2 separate regions of the Homo sapiens genome follow, and region 2 is linked to region 1. The links are contacts of gene promoters, found by promoter capture Hi-C in human tissues and cell types (Jung and others, 2019). All regions are on one chromosome and are shown on one strand. Each heading gives the region's core, a stretch centred on a gene start or on the middle of the fragment in contact. The rest is flanking DNA. Distances are from core to core; before and after follow the strand shown. Region 1 holds the start of HHAT (hedgehog acyltransferase). Region 2 overlaps UTP25 (UTP25 small subunit processome component).

Region 1 (4,699 bases), core at 1,195-3,694:
GTCTTCTGCAGTGACAGCAACCAAAATGAGACTATGAAGTAGGCTGGACATAAGCAAACACACTTTGGGTGTCAATGTCTACCAACACACCCCCCCAGATGGGACTGCCTAGTTGCAGAAAAACAAGCTCAGGGGTCCCACTGATTCTACTCTATGGTGAGTTGTATTCATATTACAATGTAATAATAATAGAAATAAAGTCCACAATAAATGTAATGCAGGTGGGGCATGGTGATTCACACCTGTAATCCCAGCACTTTGGGAGGCCAAGGAGAGGATGGCTTGAGCTCAGGAGTTCGAGCTCAGGAATTTGAGACCAGCCTGGTTGACATGGTGAAATCCTGTCTCTACTAAAAATACAAAAATTAGCCAGATGTGGTGTCGCATGCCTGTAAGCTACTCCGGAGGCTGAGGCACGAGAATTGCTTGATCCCCAGAGGTGGAGGTTGCAGTGAGCCAGTATCGTGCCACTGCACTCCAGCCTGGGTGACCCAGCGAGACTCTTGTCTCAAAACAAATAAATAAAATAAATGTAACGTGCTTGAATTATCCCAACACCATCCCCCTTCCCCCAGTCCATGAAAAACTTATTGTCCATGAAACCGGTCCTTGGTGCCAAAAAGGTTGGGGACCACTGCTTTAGGGAACATTCCCCCTGGGCCAGGTCCTAAGCTGGAAGCAGGGGGTGCAGGTAAGGCCCATGCTCGCAAGTTCCTGATGCTACCTACAGAGCTCCCACCAACATCTGGCCACCCACAAAAACGGCTGCTCCCTCCAAAGAATTGACTTTCACCCTAAGTTCATCCATCTAACCTACTTCCAAGGAGGGGGCAAAGTAAACAGTAGATAAAGCACAGGCGTTGATCCAAAAGAGGAGTCCAAAACCCGGCCCTGACATGTACTAGTTTGTGGCTTTGGCTCCCCTCCAAGGCTTTCTCTATCCTACTGTGAAAAGAGATAACAACACTTATCTTTCCCAGTTACTGTAAGGTTTAGAAATAATGTATCTAAAGCACCTAATAAGCACACAGTCTCCTTAAATTAACATTAATTGAATCTCTCAGGTCAGAGCTGTCCTTATCAAACAATCACAATTAGGGACTGACTGGCAACGAGAAAGGAGGGAGAAAAATCACAGGGAAAATGGAACATGAGGAATGGAAGGGGAAAAAAATCATTCCTCAAAGTCTCCTTCAATGAACTACCGCCTCTTCAATGAAGCCTTCCCTCTCCTCTCCTTGCATTCCCATAGCACTTAATCACATTGAAATAGGTCCTTAGCTCTGAGAATGAATGAGATGCCAGGCACGGTGGCTCACGCCTGTAATCCCAGCACTTTGGGAGGTCGAGGTGGGCAGATCACCCGAGGTCAGGAATTCGAGACCAGCCTGGCCAACACGGTGAGACCCTCGTCTCTACTAAAAATACAAAATTAGGTGGGCGTGGTGGCGCATGCCTGTAATCCCAGCTACTCAGGAGGCAAGGCTGGAGAATCGCTTGAAACCGGGATGCTGAGGTTGCAGTGAGCTGAGATTGTGCCATTGCACTCCAGCCTGGGCGACCAGAGCGAAACTCCGCCTCAAAAACACAAACAACAACAAAAACAGAAAGAGAAGCAATGTCTCACTCCCACGTAATGCAAACCTCTGAGGATGCCAAATGCCCTAGCCCTACAACCCTGATCCAAGAGCAATGTACACAGGTAGCAGCACATTTCTTAACACCAATGCTACCCGTAAAGTACCTCTGGTGAGGATTAGCGGGAGGGTTTTTCCGCATAAAGACCTGCCACCTGAAGGTTAGACTCAGAACAGAGGAAGAAAACTGAGTCCTGAAGATAGAACGCAAAGGAAGTCTCTAACTTTAGAGTCCCTGGAGTCACAGCAGGCAGGCAGGCGCACCGCCGATACTGCCAAGAGGACCAGAGTTCGCAACTCCCCGCAGCAGTTCCGGAAGCTGGGGACGAAGCCAAGGAGAGAGGACGTGGGCAGGGCCGTGCGCGGACTTGTCCCGGCGCCTAGATCCCCGCCTTTGCCCGGGCGCACTGCGCGCGCGGCCCCCGCCGCTTTTGTCTTCTTCGCCCGACCGGGAACTTCCTCTGTCCCGCCCTCGGGCGCGCACACGGGAACTTGGGTAGGAAACGGAAAGCGTTTTGTGCATTTTTTTTTTAACAGAGTAAACTGACGCAGAAAATTCAGCATCTAACCTCCCCAGGACCCCCTATGGTCACCAGTTACCAACCTCCGGGCTGTCCCGGGCGGCGGCGACGGCAACGTTCACGCGCGCCGCGAGTTCCCAACACCCCTCTTTCGGCACTTCCGAGTCCCAGCGACATCGGCGGCGGCTGCGGGCTTCCCCGGGACGCCACCCTCTTTCCCCCGGAGCTGCCCTTTGGAGGAGCAGCGCAGCGCGCGTCCTCCGAGCACGCCCCTGCCGCCGTGCCCGCGCGCCCTCCGCGCCCGGACTCGGGAACCCGCGGCGCTCTCCGGGCGATGGCGAGCAGGCCGTGCTGCTGCAGGGGGCGGGCCAGAGCGCGGCCTGCGTTTCTGAACCGCGTTTGCCCCGCCGGCGGCCCGGGGCCCCTAGCCCCGCTCACCCCTCGGCTGTTGGTTCCCACTGACCCTGGCGTGCATATCTCTCCCCCACCCGTGTGTTCATTGCAGGTCTGGGGCTGCCTGCAAGTTAATTGCAGAGTGGAAGTCACCTGAAACTCGAGGTGGGCCGTCATTCCAACACCAGTGGTCCCCACCTACGTTTTGTAGGCGAAAGGAGGTAGTTCGGTGCGGTGGAAAGAGGGTGGGCTTTGCAGCCCTGGCAGCTTCGAGGGCTTACTGTGTGAACTTAGCCCCTGTGAGCCTCCCTGTACACCTCTGTAAAACAGAAATAGACTTCCCTGCTTTTCTTTGTAAATTAGAGTGAAGATCAAATAGAATAAACTTTATGAATTGTAAAGCAACTTACAGAGATCACTACTGCAAAATGGGTACGAAGATTTTGATTGCGTTGTGAAAAGAGTGGAAGATCTGAAGATGCTCCAACGGGGTATAATTGGGACGATGTTGCTGCTCGGAGGCCTCCAAGCCTGAGCCAAGAGACAGGCTTGCCAGAGTTCTCCAGACTTATCTCAGCAGAATCACGTGGCTCTCATTAAAACCTCGGGCTTCTGGATCCCTCCCCAAACCAAAAGCATCAGACTGTCCATGGCAGGGGCGTCTCAGGTGGTTCTATGATAAGGTGAAGGTGGATAACTCTGCCCTAGGCAGCAGGGAAACTCGGAAGCTGTGCTCTCAGAAATTTCATCTAGCAGTCATTGTAATGGTCGAGAGGATTATTTTAATGATTTTAGAATTCTCCAGGAAACCAGAGTATGAACTCTCCAAGAGCTGGAGCTATCTTTTCTTTCTGCTTCCCCCCAACCCACTCACCCCAAAACCTGGTACTGGATGGTGTTCAGTAAGCAGGTGTTAGTAAACTAGCCCCAAATAGGAGTGCCAGATTTAGCAAATAAAAATACAGCATACTCAATTAAAATTGAATTTCAGGCTGGGCGCGGTGGCCCACGCCTGTAATCTCAGCACTTTAGGAGCGGTAGCAGGAGGATCACTTGAGGCCAGGAGTTTGAGACCAGCCTGGCCAACATGGTGAGACCCCGTCTCTACTAAAAATACAAAAATTAGCCGGGTGTGGTGGCCTGCACCTGTAATCCCAGCCACTTGGGAGGCTGAGGCACGAGAATCGCTTGAACCCGGGCGGCAGAGGTTGCAGTGAGCTCAGATCGCACCACTGCACTCCAACCTGGGTGACTGAGCCGGACTCTGTCTCAAAAAAATAAGTAAATAATTTCAGGTGAACAATATGTAACTTTTTAGTATCACTATGACCCATGCAATATTTGGGATATACTTATTTTTTTTAAGTACTTACAGGAAGCTTGTAATCCCAGCACTTTGGGAGGTCGAGGTGAGTAGATAACTTGAATCCAGGAGTTCGAGACCAGCCTGGCCAACATGATGAAACTCCATCTCTACCAAAAAAAAAAAAAAAAAATGGTATATCTGAAATTCAAATTTACATCCTGGGTATCTGAAAATCAAACTTAACTGGGTATTTTATCTGTCAACTCTAGATCCAAGGGTTTGGCAGAGGGAGTGGCAGAATAAGAACTCAACTCAGGTAGTGTCAAACTCAGGGACAGGGATGTGATAACAGCTCCTATATTATTTCTAAAAGATGCTGTTGTTAATATAGGTTCAGTGTGATTTACACTTAACCCCTGTCTACATATGCACTTTAAATTCACCGGCGAACACAAAGGAGATAAAGGCAGATTTAAACACAGGCAATCAGAAACATCAAATAAAAATAGCCAAAATTTATGTGTGTGTGTATATATATATATATATATATATATATATATATGTATGTATTAGAGACAGTCTCACTGTGTCACCCAGGCTAAGCACAGTGGCATGATCTCAGCTCACTGCAGATTCAAGCAATTCTTGTGCCTTAGCCACCTGAGTGGCTGGGATTACAGGCAAGCACCAGCCACCACACCTGGCTATTTAGTAGAGACAGGGTTTTGCCTTGTTGGCCAGGCTGGTCTCGAACTCCTGGCCTCAAGTGATGCACCTGCCTCAGCCTCCCAAAGTGCTGGGATTACAGGTGTGAGCCACCATGCTTGGCCATAATAGCCAAA
Region 2 (4,699 bases), core at 1,090-3,589, 490 kb after region 1:
GGGACAACTCAAGTGAATACAGGGAAGGTCCCTCCCCTTCCTTGTATTCATTTGAGTTGTCCTGTAATGTCCTTCTTGCAGTGTATAACCACAGCTACATGCCAGGTCTATAGACAGGGTATGCTTTGGTTTCTACATCCTTCTTCAGCAATGCCCATTTTGGGAGAAAACCAACTAACCAACCAAGAAGAGTCTGTCCAAACCAAAAACTCTCTGGCTACTTTGTAAGAGTGCGAGAGTGAGGGATGATCTCAACACCACGAAGCCTGCCATGCATTCAGAGCAGGCCATGATTTGTCCTGCACCTCCCCTTCAGAGAGGAGGCTTGAAACCTGGCACCACTTTACCTTTTGTAGAAATGGAAGCGCTCTGTGAAAAGTAGAAACTGTTTCTCTCCTTGAAGGAAGAAGTGTCTGGCCCTGGAGACACCAGACTTCTGCGTGTACTCGCAGATGTGGGTAAAATTCAATTCCTCCTTCTTGAAGTAATTTCGAAGACGCACGAAGTCAAAGTAGGAGGGGATATAGATGAGCGTGTGAGACATGACTGCATCACGATACTGTGGCAAAATCTTGTTCACAAAAAAGTTAAACCTGATTTGGAATGGCAAAGGGCAAAATTAATGTCTAGAGCTAAGCTTATGGTGTCTCTTAACTGTGTGACCCTGAGCAAATTACAATCTCGTGTTAAAAGATTACCTCCCCAGAGGCCAATATGATTTACCTCCTCTCAAAGAGATTATGTAAGGATAAAACTTGATAAGCACACTAAAAAAATAAGTGTCAACACTATTCATTGTAAAAAACAGATGTAATACCATTATATCCCAGAGAATTACTCTAGGAAGTACACACCACACTATTCAGTCAGTCAGTCAGTCACTCAGTCACTCAGTCCAACAGTCAACAAATAATCACTGAACATCTACCATATACTAAGCCTCACTAAGCTTCTTTGGGGTCCCCTAACTAAACACAATGAAGAAAAAGGGGGAAATTATACAATTAGAAAAATAGTTCTTTCCCTGAGGGGCTTACAATTAACTTGCTGACATGAGACACTTTGTAGCATAAAGCTGTATAATTTTAAAATGCCACAGTCAAGAGTGAAAGAGTCCTGATTTATAGTAATAACCCTGCTACTAACTAGTTATGAGACCTAGGCCAAAGTCACTATTTCTCTCTGTGCTTCAGTTTCCTCCTCTGACAAATGACATAATTAAGTTCAATTATCTCAACTGATTTGGTAGTTATCAATAAAAGCAAAATGGAATCCAATTCTAGGTTTGTATGCCCAAGTCAAATCTCTCTATGTGGTCCCCAGGGGCCTGCTGGGAGGAGTGGGTTACCTGGCATCAATCACTGAAGCTAGGTTTTCAGCTTCCATCCTCTGGAAGACATGTGGGAGCTGCACCAGGACATGACTGATAGAGCCTGTCATTGGGACATTCCTCACGGCCACCTGCCAGTAGTCAACAAGAGCGTTAGGTGGACAGCCATCCCCTTCTTGACCAGAAGCTATCGCCTCCTTCTACCTCAGGACCCAAACAATAAACAGTGCTCATGAAGATACTGAGGAAACAAGACGAGAACCCACCTGGCCTTGCATGTTGACACAGTACTTGTTGAACACTGAGTTGATCTGGGCATCCTGAAGGGCCCCAAATAGCAGTGTCTGGCGATAGTACTTGGACCAATTATTGAGGCTCCACATCCGCACTCGAGAAAAGTCTACCCCATGTGAGTCCAGGGGTAGTAGGTTCATGTGATTCATCAAATGCTTTGAGTGGAAATAATATTACCATTAGTGTTGACTGAGAGCATTTACATGTTGGACATTGCTAAACATTTTCCGAGTCTATCAACTCATGTACTATCATCTCCTAAATTATAACAAGAAAACTGAGGCTCACATGGGTGAGTGACTTGCCCATGGTCAGCCAAACATCCCCAATGAGGAGATAAGCTAAAACTGGCCCTCCTGGAATTTTAACAAATGATCAAAATGGTACCTACAGGAATGTTCCTTTAAAATGAACTTCTGAAATGCCACACTGGTCTCTCTATGGGTCCCTAAGTCCCAGACTTGGACAAGAAGGGAAATGCCATGGAAAACAGAGCTGCTGTCCCTCAATTACCTGGTTCTCAAAACATTAGGAATAGTTGCAGTGTCACCCTGTCTTTTCCTCAAATCTAAGAATATAACTCGACTATGCCAAATGCCTTTTCCATTTTAATTATATTTTTACCTTGTAATAGATATTGAAGGGTAATGAGTACAATAAATTTATTTCCTACTTTAGAAGTAAGTTCTACCCTTCATTTGTCCCAAACTTCCTGCAAGCTTCAAGACATGGGGTTGTAGAAGGGGTGAGTTCCCATATGCCTTAGAAAAATAAACCTATAGTTCCTAAATAAGGATTGTTCCAAAGCAGTTTTTCAGTCCTAAAACTGATAACACTGCAGAGTGTGTGGAGAAGGAGAAAAAAATTACAGTACAAATTACATCGGGTAATAAAGACATCCTATATTTCTCTACAAAACAAGATCCCACCTTAAAAAATCTTGAGCAGGGTATTCCCATCTTCACCAAAGACCAAACAAAACAGCATAAGCAAAAACCACATGTGGGATTATGTTAGGTAAAGATGTTCCTGGTGAGGACCCATCCATCCATCAACCTATCCCATCCACCCATCCACCCACCCTAAAGTTAGTAGAAAGAAATTTTAAGGGAAAGAAATCTTTTCTGGAGATTTGAAAATGACTGACAGGAATTTTAATCTGTAGACAGTTTAATTATGGACAATCTCTGGGTAGAAAAGGGGACAAAAGACTTTTTCAAATTAGAAAATGTGGAGTGTGTGTCCTTGCTTCCAAACAAGAGTTCTAATCTGGACTTAAATAATTCTTTAGGACTTAAACCACTGGGTGTCTTATCCCTCTAAATATGAATACTGTCCCACTGAATGTGAATGGCCAGCATTACCAGGACATGCTCCCAGTTCTGCATCAGGTAAATGTCAGCTTGATCAATGATGAGAAGCTCGATAGAAGACAGAAAGTCAAAATCTCTCTTCTTCTCTCCTTCTCCACCAATGATGGTCCTCAAGCCCAGGGGGGAAGCAATGAGGATATCCGAGGAGTAAAACGGGGCATAGAGTCGGATGCTTCTCTGAAGTATTGCCACTCCTACACAAAACAGCCAAGTACACACCAATTCATTAGTCACTACCAAGCCATTACCTTCCACCCTCTCAAAGCAGTCCACCACTTCTATTGCTTCCACATCTCTTTTGTTCCTCTTAGCATGTAACTGTGCTCAACTGCTTTAATTATTAAAACATAAGAACAAGAGAAATCTCTCCCTTGCATCTATAGTCCCTTCTAGCTTCTACCTTCTCTTCCTTTCCGTCACTATCAAACTGCTCCAGAGAATTCTCTCTACTTTCAAATCTCTCCTTCACTTCTCACTCCACTGCAATCCGGCCTCTGATTCTCAGGACTCCAGAGAAATGACTCTTGCTAAGGTCCCCACAGTCCTCAGTCACCAACAGGATGAACACTTTTGAGAGCTTCTTATGAGGAAAGTACAAACGGCACAGAATGTACTAACAGCTGCCTTGCAATGCTCTTTTCCTTGCTAATAGTTTCCATGACTTCAACTCTCACTTTTGCTTCTATCACTGACCTGGCCCTTGTCTGTCCTTCCAGATCCAAATAACTCTTCTGCAAACTGGTGGATTCACTTGTCAGCTCTGCTCTCGTGCTGCATAAAGCTTTGGGTTAACTGACTCACTGATCATGGCTTTAATGTCACCTTCACACAAATGTGTATTTCCAGCCCATATCTTTTTCCTGAGCTCCAGAACAATATACCAACTGCTTCCTGGACAGCTATATATGTTCCAAACAAAACACGAGCTCTTGTCTCCTTATGCCTTACATTCCACCATACCGAAGCCTGTGTGAATCATAGGTCATTCCAAGCTTAGTCACCCTGATGCCTCTGCAACAGGCAGTTTCCTGTCTGAAATGTTTTCCTCCACTCAGCCACCTCCCTTTGAAACTGGCTGAATCCTACACAGGTTTCCACCTAGTACAGATGACACCTCCACCACGACATCTTCCCTAACCACCCTGCCCCCATTTTGGGTAAGGGGGTTTGCTTTAAATGCTCCGAGAACAACCGTTGCACACATATCCTGCACTGCCTGCTCTGTCGTAGGCTGGATTTCCTTAGCAATGGGAACTATAACTTTTATTTCTATATTTATCTGTAGATTCCCAGCTTCTTAACAGTGCCTGGCACACTGTAGATACTCAATAAGTATTTGTGAATGAGCATATGTGACTAATGAACATTTCCCCAAGAACTTTACTCTATAAAAGGTATAACCAACCAAAGTCAATGGGAGCTGAATGAGAGACAAGCAAAAATGTGAAAATTTGGGTGGAAGTCATGTGTGGAGATTATTCAGGGTAGGCATCTATGTAGCACACAGGAGAAAGTCCACCTTTATGTAGAGACAGTCATTTTATTCAGCCTCCCCAGAATGACCCCATCAGCCCCATCACTTCCAACATCCTAGAGAACCCCTTGTAGCATCTATCTGCTACCAGCTATGGGTGTGCTTTCACACTTCTGTTATAAACTTGCTATAAATTTCTGTTATAAATGTACATGTGCCTTTCATATA

Evidence for each region. The method cuts DNA at HindIII sites, captures the fragments that hold promoters and counts their contacts. A contact is called where the count stands out against the background at its distance.
Region 2: a fragment that was not itself captured here is called in contact with the fragment with the promoter of HHAT in region 1 in 1 of the 25 tissues and cell types used here (dorsolateral prefrontal cortex).

The regions. Positions count from the first base shown.
Region 1 is chr1:210,326,647-210,331,345 of GRCh38, reverse strand. HHAT (hedgehog acyltransferase) reads right to left here and starts at 2,444. Exons shown (of 12, transcript NM_018194.6): 1 at 2,242-2,444. RefSeq lists enhancers at 586-755, 1,868-2,227, 3,102-3,271 and a silencer at 2,388-2,637. The HindIII fragment of the contact is 7,053 bases long and covers 1-4,669 here.
Region 2 is chr1:209,839,345-209,844,043 of GRCh38, reverse strand. UTP25 (UTP25 small subunit processome component) reads right to left here. Exons shown (of 12, transcript NM_014388.7): 8 at 2,989-3,191; 9 at 1,597-1,779; 10 at 1,349-1,461; 11 at 348-593. Among named protein-coding and RNA genes, the nearest start is that of UTP25, 14 kb to the right of the region's middle. RefSeq lists an enhancer at 3,946-4,240. The HindIII fragment of the contact is 3,091 bases long and covers 794-3,884 here.